3 separate regions of the Homo sapiens genome follow, and all the other regions are linked to region 2. Evidence: promoter capture Hi-C in human tissues and cell types (Jung and others, 2019). All regions are on one chromosome and are shown on one strand. Each heading gives the region's core, a stretch centred on a gene start or on the middle of the fragment in contact. The rest is flanking DNA. Distances are from core to core; before and after follow the strand shown.

The links. The method cuts DNA at HindIII sites, captures the fragments that hold promoters and counts their contacts. A contact is called where the count stands out against the background at its distance.
Region 1: a fragment that was not itself captured here is called in contact with the fragment with the promoter of GHRH in region 2 in 1 of the 25 tissues and cell types used here (thymus).
Region 3: a contact is called between a fragment that was not itself captured here and the fragment with the promoter of GHRH in region 2, in 1 of the 25 tissues and cell types used here (H1 embryonic stem cells).

The regions. Positions count from the first base shown.
Region 1 is chr20:37,576,602-37,580,162 of GRCh38, reverse strand. The region is part of intron 2 of LINC01746 (long intergenic non-protein coding RNA 1746); the gene reads right to left. Among named protein-coding and RNA genes, the nearest start is that of LINC01746, 7.3 kb to the right of the region's middle. The HindIII fragment of the contact is 3,072 bases long and covers 421-3,492 here.
Region 2 is chr20:37,259,554-37,263,261 of GRCh38, reverse strand. It overlaps GHRH (growth hormone releasing hormone), which reads left to right and starts at 1,448. Exons shown (of 5, transcript NM_021081.6): 1 at 1,448-1,519. The HindIII fragment of the contact is 8,848 bases long and covers 1-3,642 here.
Region 3 is chr20:37,707,423-37,711,164 of GRCh38, reverse strand. All of the region lies in intron 1 of CTNNBL1 (catenin beta like 1), which reads right to left. Among named protein-coding and RNA genes, the nearest start is that of CTNNBL1, 15 kb to the right of the region's middle. The HindIII fragment of the contact is 3,185 bases long and covers 466-3,650 here.

The DNA of each region.
Region 1 (3,561 bases), core at 707-3,206, 320 kb before region 2:
ATAAAGTGTGAAGTGCAATACCTGGTGCAGAGGGCTAGCTGGTGTCCTCACAATTTGCAGAGAGTGTCTAGGAGTTTGCCTAAAGGACAATGTGGCAAATGGTTTGGGCAAAGGGAACAGCCTCTGCCAAGGTGTGAACATGGGGAAATAGGAGCCACTGGGAGATGCTGGAGCTTAGGAAGAACTGAGAGAGGGGGCTGGTGTGGATAGGGCTTGGAAGGCCAGAAATTTGTACCCAAGCCTGAGGGGAGTGGGGAGCAATGGAAGGGTCTTGAGCAGGAGAGGGGCCAGGTCAAATCGTCTATTAGAAAGACCCCACTAGGTTGGGCTCAGTGGCTCACACCTGTAATCCCAGCACTTTGGGAGGCCAAGGTGTGTGGATCACCTGAAGTCAGGAGTTCGAGATCAGCCTGGCCAACATGGCCAAACCCTGTCTCTACTAAAAATACAAAAATTAGCCAGGTGTGGTGGTGCATGCCTGTAGTCCCAGCTACTCGGAAGGCTGAGGCAGAAGAATCACTTGAACCCAGAAGGTGGAGGTTGCAGTGAGCCAAGATCACACCACTGCACTCCAGCCTGGGTAAGAGAGTGAGACTCCACCTCAAAACAAAATGAAACAAAACAACACCACTAAAGGTGAATGAAGAAGAGAGGTTGGCGGGACCAAGTTGGGACTCATATTCTGCTCTCTCTGCCCAAATGCTCCTGCATAGCCCTGAAGGATTTCAAATCCTTTATGAAGTCTAGTGCCTGCCCTGCTTACAGGCCCCAGGTACTGGCTGGGTTCCCAGTGGCCATCTCTCCAGCTGAGATATGTGTGTTGGAGCCGGGGGAGTGGAGAAGCCAGCTTCGGGGTGGGAAGCCCATCTGGCAGATTCTGGCTGGAGTAGGGGGCAGTGGCGGGGCAGCCTCCTGCTCATCAGCCTTTCCACTGTGGAGTCAGTCAAGCGTTCCTCCCTCCAAGGAGTGGTGGCTGTCAGGCGTGTCCAAACTGCACTCCTGGCTGCCTCAATTTTGCATCCCCTAGGTAGCGCAGACACCATGAATGGACCAGAGATTGAATGCAAAATCAAAATGCAGCAAATAAATGGATGCAAAAGTCATTTGGAGCCAATAATAAGAACCACCTCCAGACTCAGAAGCAGGGAAAGTTGCACAGAGGCTGAGCTGGCCTGGCTGCTGGTGGAGAAGGGATGTTAGTTTGGGCACCCCTTCCCCGGCTTCACTGGCCCCAACACTCCTCTCACTGATCCACGTCGCTGGATGGTCTCCAAGGTTACTCAGGGTACAGACAGGGAAAATGAGACTTGGGGCCAGGTGCGATGGCTCATGCCTGTAATCCTAGCACTTTGGGAGGCCAAGCCAGATGGATCACCTGAGGTCAGAAGTTTGAGACCAGCCTGGCCAACATGGTGAAACCCCGTCTCCACGAAAAATACAAAACTTAGGCTTGGTGGCACATGCCTGTAATCTCAGCGACTTGGGAAGCTGAGGCAGGAGAATCACTTGGAATCACCTGGAAGGCGGAAGTTGCAGTGAGCCGAGATGGTGCCACTACACTCCAGCCTGGGCAACAGAGCGAGACTCCATCTCAAAAAAAAAAAAGAGAGAGAGAGAGACTTGTAAACAGAGGATAGATACAACCCAAGATACCCAAAGAGTTAGGGCCCTAGACTCAAACAGATCTGAGTTTTGATTCAGCTCTTCCAATTTCCAGCACACGTGACCTTCAGCAAGTCACCTAATCTGCAATTGCTCTCATCACTTTAGTTGGGCAGGCCAAAGGTAAAATATTGGAGCGTGGAAAGGCACTAAGCACTGAACAGAGATGGAGCACCAAATATGCACTTGTGAGGGCAGGTCTCATTCACTTCTCCATCCCAAGGCCTCCGCTGTGCCCAGCACACAGTAGGTGCTCAATGCATATCTGTTGAAGTCATGGATGGTGCAATGACTGCGTTAGGAACTAGGAGCAGAGTTCTAATTTGTTTGCTGATATAGCCCTAGAGCCCTAAACAGTGCCTGGCACATAGTAGGTGCTCAGTAACAGTGGTCCCCAATCTTTGTGGCACAAGGGACAGCTTTCATGGAAGACAATTTTTCCAAGGACCGGTGTGGGGTTGGGGGAAGGAAGGTTTCAGGATGATTCCCGGATGATTAAAGCACATTACATTTATCGTGCACTCTATTTCTATCACATTGTAATATAGAATGAAATAATTATACAACTCACCATAATGTAGAATCAGTAAGAGCCCTGAGCTTGTTTTCCTACAACTAGATGGTCCCATCTGGGGGTGATGGGAGACAGTGACAGATCATCAGGCGTTAGATTCTCATAAGGAGTGTGCAACCTAGATCCCTCGCATGCACAGTTCACAATAGGGTTCGCCCTCCTGTGAGAATCTAATGCCACCACTGATCTGACAGGAGGTGGAGCTCAGGCAGTAATGTGAGCAATGGGGAGCAGCTGTAAATACAGATGAAGCTTTGCTTGCTTGTCCCCCGCTCACCTCCTGCTATGTGGCCTGGGGGTTGAGGATCCCTGCTCAATGATACACACATTAATGAATTTGGTTTTAAACACCAACTTTGTCCTTCCCCTAGTTGCCATCATTGAAGAGCCCCAGCACCCCAAGCACCCCAGCCTGGGCTCCTGGGGGCTGCAAATTGAACTTCATGTGTCTTAGTGCCCAGAGAGGGAAGGAAAACGTTATACTAACATCTGGTAGTCACAGGTACCAACAAGGCACTTCATGGGTTACAAAGCAGGTTCCCATGGAATGTCTTTGCTGATCTCCAGTCAGTTTCACAGATGGAGAAAGAGAAACTCAAAAGATGAGGTGACTTGCGCAGGGTCACAAGGTATGTCAAGCAGAGATGGCTGGGATTGAAATGGCAAATCCTTTCTCTTTGTATCATTCATTCCTCTAACCAGTTATAACAAGTACCTCCCAGTGGGATCATGATGGGGCTCAGACAGGCACTGGTCCCCACTATGGAAGGAGTGAGGGTCCTGGGTCAGCAGGCTGAAGGCCAAGGCCCACCCTGGGCCACCAAGAGCTGTGGAGACAGGGAAGTGAAGAGCAGGATGAGAGACAAGTGGAGAAGCCTCTGGCTAGGTCATCCGGGCAGCTAGGACAAAGCAGAGAGACTAGAAGGGGCAGAGAGAAAGGCAATTACACCAGGAACATCTATTAAGCACTCACTGTATGCCAGGCACTGAGGATATGGCAGTGAGCAAGGCAAACAAGGAACTCACATGCTGGTGGGGAGACAGACTCTGGTTTGTAATTACTCACTGCAAGTAGAAGTGGGGGCTCTGAAGGCAAGGAGCATGGTTTCCAGGAGGACACGGGGACATAAGTTAGGCCTGGAGGGTCAGGGAGGGCTTCTTGGAAAAGGTGGTGCTTGGGCAGAGATCTGGAGGATGATAAGAGAAGGAGGGAGGGAGAGACAGAGACAAGGAGTGGGAAAGACGAGAGTAGGGGGAAGAAACTGACAAAGTCAGAGGAAGAGTTTGAGGACCCAGTGCAGTGGCTCACACCCAACACTCTGGGA
Region 2 (3,708 bases), core at 199-2,698:
CTTTTTTTGAGACAGAGTCTCGCTCTGTCGCCCAGGCTGGAGTGCAGTGGCACGATCTCGGCTCACTGCAACCTCCACCTCCCGGGTTCAAGCAATTCTCCTGCCTCAGCCTCCTGAGTAGCTGGGATTACAGGTGCCCACTACCACACCCAGCTAATTTTTGTATTTTTAGTAGAGACGGGGTTTCACCATGTTGGTCAGGCTGGTCTCGAACCCCTGACCTCATGATCCACCCGCCTCAGCCTCCCAAAGTGCTGGGATTACAGGTGTGAGCCACTGCACCCAGCCAGGTAGAAGTAACTTCCTAAGGGTCACAGAGGTCATGATTGACAGGCTTGGGAGAGGCAGCAGGTCCCTAGACTCGAGGCTTGGAGCTCTTTCCACACCTCCACGACGGCCGCCTGGGAAACCAGAGCTTCTGCCTCCTGTGCTTTTATGTCATTCCTGAGGATTTCTTAGCTATAGGCTAGAGAAATCTGGAAACACAACAACTCTCCCAAGGTTTTCCATCTCTTCCCTCTCATTTCACACTTCTCTGAGGCAACTGCCAATGTCTGGCTGCCTTGACAGGTGACGACGGATGCCCCCAGGCTAGCTGTTGAAATCAGCCTGTGACCAAGCAGGTGTAAATCAAATAGTGCAGAATTCTGATAATTGGACGACAAGGGAGATAGGGAACAAATTCCCCACTAAGGAGAGAATAACGCTTATTCATAATGTTGTCTACCCAAAAGTGAAATAAAATTACACAGGGACAAAGCTAAATTATATGAACTTTTGAAAAGGCACATTTATCTTGGAGAATCAATAAACTCTTGGTGTTTCACTGTTATGAGTTCTCCAATTATTTTTAACACATATTTTTTCTTTTTTTAAAAAATATATATTTTGAGATAGAGTCGTGCTCTGTCACCCAGGCTGGAGTGCCATAGCGTGGTCTTGGCTCACTGCAACCTCCGCCTCCCAGGCTCAGGTGACACTCTTGCCTCAGCCACCTGAGTAGCTGGGACTATACCCATGTGCCAACATGCCCAGCTAATTTTTAATTTTTTTCTAGAGACAGGGTCTCATTATGTTGCCCAGGTTGGTCTCAAACTTCTGAGCTCAGGCAATCCACCCGCCTCAGCCTCCCAAAGTGCTAGGATGGCAGGTGTGAGCCACCGCGCCCAGCCGAGTTCTCCAATCACTATTATAGCAGTATATATTCTCTATATCCTCTTGGAATAATGTTACACCTTTGTACTATGTCCACTGTGCCAAAGATAAAAGGAGACTTTACCAGGAGTCTAAGTCTGCAAGGGGCCAAACCTCTTTCACCAACAGGGTTTGTCAGTGTGATATGATGCTAAAAACAGTCCTTTGGTTGACTTGTGGGTAATTGATTCTCTGACGCTGACAACGCTTAGGAAAATGAAGAGATAAATGATGGGAACGCCAGGCGGCTGCCAGAGCAAACACCCAGCCCAGGGCCCCTGGATTTGAGCAGTGCCTCGGAGCAGAGGGATATCTGCCGCATCAGGTGAGAGGGGTGGCCCTGGGGGGGCTAGGCTGGGTGGGGGTAAGAAAAGTTAACCTTCTCACCAACTTAGAAACACTGAGTCCAAGAGGCCCACCGCCATCCTCTTTGCCCATGGACTGGTGAGTACATTTGAGCCCCTCTCTGGATAAAATCACCCCTCAATAGGGGCTCTGGAATAGGCTTTTGATGGTGCTGTTTGGGGCTTGTCTTAACTTGGGCGCGTGGCGGACTGGCTCCAGGTGTCTGTCGCAGGTGGTGAGGTCTCAGTGCTCCTTCGAGGATGCGTGGGCAGGCTTCGGGGGCAAACGTGAGTTGGCTCGATTTTCCTGTCAGCGATGGGATTCTGCCATGGATCAGAGATGAGCCAAGTGGCTGTGCAAATCAATACTGCTCATTGATCACTCAGAACTGATTCAATGTAATTGCCGGGAAATTGATAACATTTTGCTTTCTTGCTCAATTGCAGCCACACTCTTTACTCCAGGTTTTAGACACAATTATCTGCCTTTGGAGTCCTCCGCTACCCCACGCCTGTCTCCTGATCCTTGCTTTAATGGTCCTGAAGTATTTGTGTCTTTCACCATAGACTGCCTCAAACCCCTTCTGGAAGGAGGTGGAGTGTCACTCTTTTGAATGACAGTTCAAGATGCTTCCTCATTAAAAACTTAGATTTCTTTTAACTTGGAATGCTGTCACTGAAACAGTTTATAAACCAGATCAGGAAGTCTATGCTTTGGGGTGCTCAAATTTCAAAGGGGGATATTCAAGGAAGGTTAAAGATGTTCTTTCCCTGGGTTTTCAAAAATGGCCTTGCGAATTTGGGTGCTTGAGACCTGACCTCTGTCAGCTGCAGGTGAATCTGCAGAATTCTCCTGGCATTCCTGGCATGAAAGCTGGCAAAAGGTGCCAACGGATGTAGATCAAGTGCCCGTTTATCCTGAATCCAGGCAATCTCAAGTACATCTAATCCCAGAATCAGTAAGCACTGCAGGAAGCTAACCGATGATCATAATGATAGATTATAAACTCTGGAGTGCCTTCAGTCATCAGGGTTGCCAGCAATGCTGTTGGGCTCGGCTACACTTCATTCAGTGAATTTTGACTCCTTAAGTTGTCATGTGGAATGTGTCTGTTGACAGCTATTTTATTTTATTCTTTGAGATGGGGTCTTGCTCTGACATTTAGGCTACTGTGCAGTGGCACTATCATGGATCACTGCAGCCTTAACCTCCCGGGCTCAAGCAATCCTCCCACATCAGCCTCCAGAGTAGCTGGGACTACAGGCATGCGCCACCATGCCTAGATAAGTTTTTTTTTGTTTTGTTTTGTGTGTTTTTTTTTTTGTAGAGATGGGGTCTCGCCATGTTGCTCAGGCTGGAGCTATTTTATCCTTAGTGACATAACCTCTATTCTTCTTATCTTACCCTACACTGGATAATTCTTGTTTCCCATTTTCATCCAGTGGGATCTGCAAACCCATGGATTCGGTTCTCATAGCTCAGAGGTTGCTGTGGGGTCTTGACCTATGCCTGGGGCACAGGATTTGTGGCAAATGTTGAGCCTCTTGGTTAACTTGTGCAGTTGCTGAGCCTTATCTTGAATGAGCGGGGTATTGTGTTTACTATGACTTGCCCTCCCCACCAAAGTCTGCCCTCCTATGAGGTTGTTTCAACTCCCTGAAACTACTGGGTGTGCATAGGGAGGGGCCAATCAAGCAGGTGTTCCTGTTTGTCCCTGTTCTTTCTTCCCCAGAGGCCCAACAACAAAGAGCAAGAAGCTTTCCTTTTTTTCAGACCCTTTCCCACGTGCAGGTGATGGAGGCTGAGGATCCCTGTGAATGGGGAATACTGTGAATAGAGCATTGTACCTGGGAGGCTGCTGCATGGAGCGGAAGGAAGTCTGCCGGCCTGGGAATGAGGAGGCCCACTCTGAAGTGCCCACTCCAAAACTAATTTGATGGAGGATCATGGAAAATGTCCTTGTCCTCTCTAGGCTCTTTTCCTTGGCTGTAAGAGGAGCATGGGGATGCCTGCTCCAGAGGGAGAGTGCAAGGATGGGTTGTGGAGCCTGATAGGGCACAGGGGCTGGGAATCACTTGTGCCAGCCCTTGGGAGAAGGGGCAGGCAGAGGGAGAGCTTAAGCCAAGAGAAGGGGTTTGAGCTTTATTCTGGAAGGAGTGGGGAGCCAAG
Region 3 (3,742 bases), core at 809-3,308, 450 kb before region 2:
GGTTTTGCTCAAACTGTCCTTTCACAGGAGGATCAGATGGGCCAGATAATGGGCTAGGGCCAAAGGTTGGGTCTTAAAGGTCCAGCTAGGGTAGGGCACACCATATGAGGCACACTGTATATGGCAGCTCCCATCCCAACCATGCAGAGCCCTTAATAATAGACTCTGGGTTGGGAGCCACAGAGCACATGTACATATCAAGCCTAAAGAAACTGGTGTGTGTGTTGGAGAGGAGACGAAAGCAGAGGTAGGGTATGACAGAGAGCCAAGAGTCAGGCACAAGACAAGAAGTGAGCAGAGGCATAAACTGGTGAAGAACAAACATACAGGGTCTCAGGTGATCGATATAATTAGATTTCACGGGCCTGTGGGTGTGTGTATATGGATATAAGGCTGACTAAAAGATACAGGGTTAAGGCAATCAGACAGGTAAATGGCTACCTTCCAGAAAGATAAGCATCATGAAAGAAAGGAGCACCCCACAGAAGGCCAGGTTAAGCCCCTATTTGTGAGTGGTAGTTTCACTTGAAAGACTCATGATTAGTGGACAACAGTAATTGCTCAGATGTTCTCTAGTTCCCAGGATGGCAGTGGGGGGGGCAAAGAGATGCTAGAGGAAAAGCAACATGGAAAATATAGACTACTCAGGCTAAAATGATTTCTAGTATCTCACAGACTTCGGAATCTAGCAACAGAGCTCTAAAAAGTTTTGCAGTTCATCCAAAAATGACCAAGAATACGAATGCTTCATTCTTCCAACAACCTCAACTTTTCAAAACACCATTAAAAGAATGGGCAAAAAAGGCCTTAGAGGTTAGATATCATATCAAACAAACAATAACACTAAGGAGTGACAGCTGACACCAAGGAAAAGAATGTAAACTACACAAAGTAGGCACAAGAACTCAAAATCCCTACTATTCCACAGTGCAGAAGTAAAAGCTTTCCAGATTTCAAAAGGTCATGAGAGAATTCAGGCACAACTAACATGTATTCATAATGATGCTCCTGAGATCACAGTGTGTCCTACTGAGAAAGGCAAGAATGTTCATGTTTTAGAAAGCTCTCCATACAAAATGATGAAAAATACATGTTTTGCACATGGAAAAGAGGACGCATAATCAAGGACACAGCACTGCCTGACCCCGATTTTGTCACCAAGTTGTTGGGGTGCTAAAGTTATTTCCCTCTCTGGGCTCTCTGGTTTACCCATGTGTACAAAGAAGAAGCTGGAATAGATCGTCTTGCCACTTAAAAGCTTCAGTTACCTGGAAAGTCTGTTTCTGAAGGGCATCACATTTTCCAAAGACACCAGAGAAACAAGAAGTTAGTACAATTCAATACAATCTGTGCCACCTTTTTTAAAAAAGGAATCTCATTATGGGTTTCTTTCAGCTACAACCCTCAATCAATCGCAATGTCTTTTTCGTGTCCTCCTTTATTGCCGAGTTTCACTATTCTGTTAGTCCTTCGGCATCTCTACCTTCCCTTGCCCAATAGAGGTACTCCTGGCCAGAGCCCCCATTACGTGTTTCAGCTTCTCTGTGAATAACTATGCAAGCTTGAGATGCTCAAAAGTTTCCCCCATCATTAATCCTATTATGGAAGCATTGATGTTGAGAGCGTCTGCTAAAAGATAACATGACAAACTGTAGCTACAATTTGTTTCTTTTTATACAAAGCTGCAAAGAAAATCGCATTCCAACATTATATACCAGCAGAGGACTGGTGTGCTGCTAATGTTTAACTCTATCAAGGATCCCAAAAGAAAATTTAAACTGAGATGCTCTTAACTGGAAATAGGGGATTCAAATAAAGAAATGTCATCAACCCTCAATTTTATGTATTAACAGAATGAGCACATGAATAATGCCAAACATGAAGCTAGAATCTGCACTAAAAATAATGCCAGCAAAACTGTTCAAGAATCAATCATGCCTGCTTTTGGAATAAAGTCAGATATATTCAGAGAGAAGCATCATGATACTCTGCTTGGTTTCAACTCCCTCTTTTTTTTTGTTTGTTTTTTTGGACGGAGTCTTGCTCTGTTGCCAGGCTGGAGTGCAGTGGCGCGATCTCGGCTCACTGCACCCTCCACCTCCCAGGTTCAAGCAATTCTCCTGTCTCAGCCTCCTGAGTAGCTGGCACTACAGGTGCATGCTACCATGCCCAACTAATTTTTGTATTTTCAGTAGAGACAGGGTTTCACCATGTTGGCCAGGATGGTCTCGATCTCTTGACCTCATAATTCGCCCACCTCGGCGTCCCAAAGTGCTGGGATTACAGGTGTGAGCCACCGCGCCTGGCCAGTTTCAACTCCTTCTTAGTTCAGTGACTCTAGATATTGCTGGGTAGCTGTTGAAAGGAAGTACAAAGAGCCAGTGCACATAATCTGCTTACAAGCAGCTGATAATCCAAAGTGAGTTAAAAGATAGAAAGGCACTGCAGTAGTCTCACTAGATCCTTCACTGAACTCCAGGATGAAGAAAAGCTAATTTCCATTTACCAACCCACAATGGAGCTGGAATTCTAAAGTTTAGGCTAAAACATTTTCAGATCAGTCACTGCTGGAATTCTATGGAAAAGAAACTAGTTCTGAACTACAAGCATACCTCATTTTTTTCCCCCTTTGCAGATACTGTGCTTTTTACAAATTGAAGATTTATAGAAACCCCGCATCAAGAAAGTCTATCAGCTGGGCGCGGTGGCTCACACCTGTAATCCCAACACTTTGGGAGGCTGAGGTGGGCAGATCACTTGAGCCCAAGAGTTTCAGACCAGACTGGGCAACATGCCAAAACCCCATCTCTACAAAAAATACAAAAATTAGCTGGGCATGGTGGCACACACCTGTAGTCCCAGCTAATCTGGGATTGCTCGAGCCCATGAGGTCAAGGCTGCAGGGAACCATGATCCTGCTGCTGTACTCCAGCCTGGGCAATAGAGCCAGACTCTACCTCCAAAAAAAAAAAAAAGAAAGTCTATCGCTGCCATTTTTCCAAAATCATGTGTTCACTTCATGTCTGTGTCACATTTTGACAATTACTGCAATGTTTCAAACTTTTTCATTATTATCATATCTGCTATGGTAATCCGTGATGAGTGATCTTTAATATTACTACTTTGTTTTCAGGCACTACAAACACGCCCACGTGAGACAGCGAACTTAATGAATAAATGTGTGTGTTCTGAGTGCCTCAACCAGCCTTTCCTCTTTCTCTCTCTCTCTCTCTCTCCTCAGGTCTCCCTATTCTCTGAGACACAACAATACTGCAATTAAGTAATTAATAACCCTACAATGGCCCTAAGTGTTCAAGTGAAAGAAAGAGTCTCACATCTCTCACTTTAAATCAAAAGCTATACATGATTAAGCTTTAGTGAGGAAAGGATGTTGAAAGCGGCAATGGGCCGAAAGCGAGGCCTGTTATACCAGACAGAAAAGCGTGAATGCACAGGAAAAGCTCTTGAAGGATATTAAAAGTGCTACTCCAGTAAACATATGAATAGTAAAAGAGCTAAAGAGCCTTACTGCTTATATGGAGAAAGTCTTAGTGCTCTGGACAGAAGATCAAACCAGTCACAACATTCTCTTGAGCCAAGCCTAATCCAGAGCAAGGCCCTAACTCTCTTCAGTTCTATGAAGGCTAAGAGAGGTGAGGAAGCTGCACACAAAGTTTGAAGCTAGCAGAGGCTTATTCATAAGGCTTAAGGAAAGAAGCCACTTCCATAACATGAAAGCGCA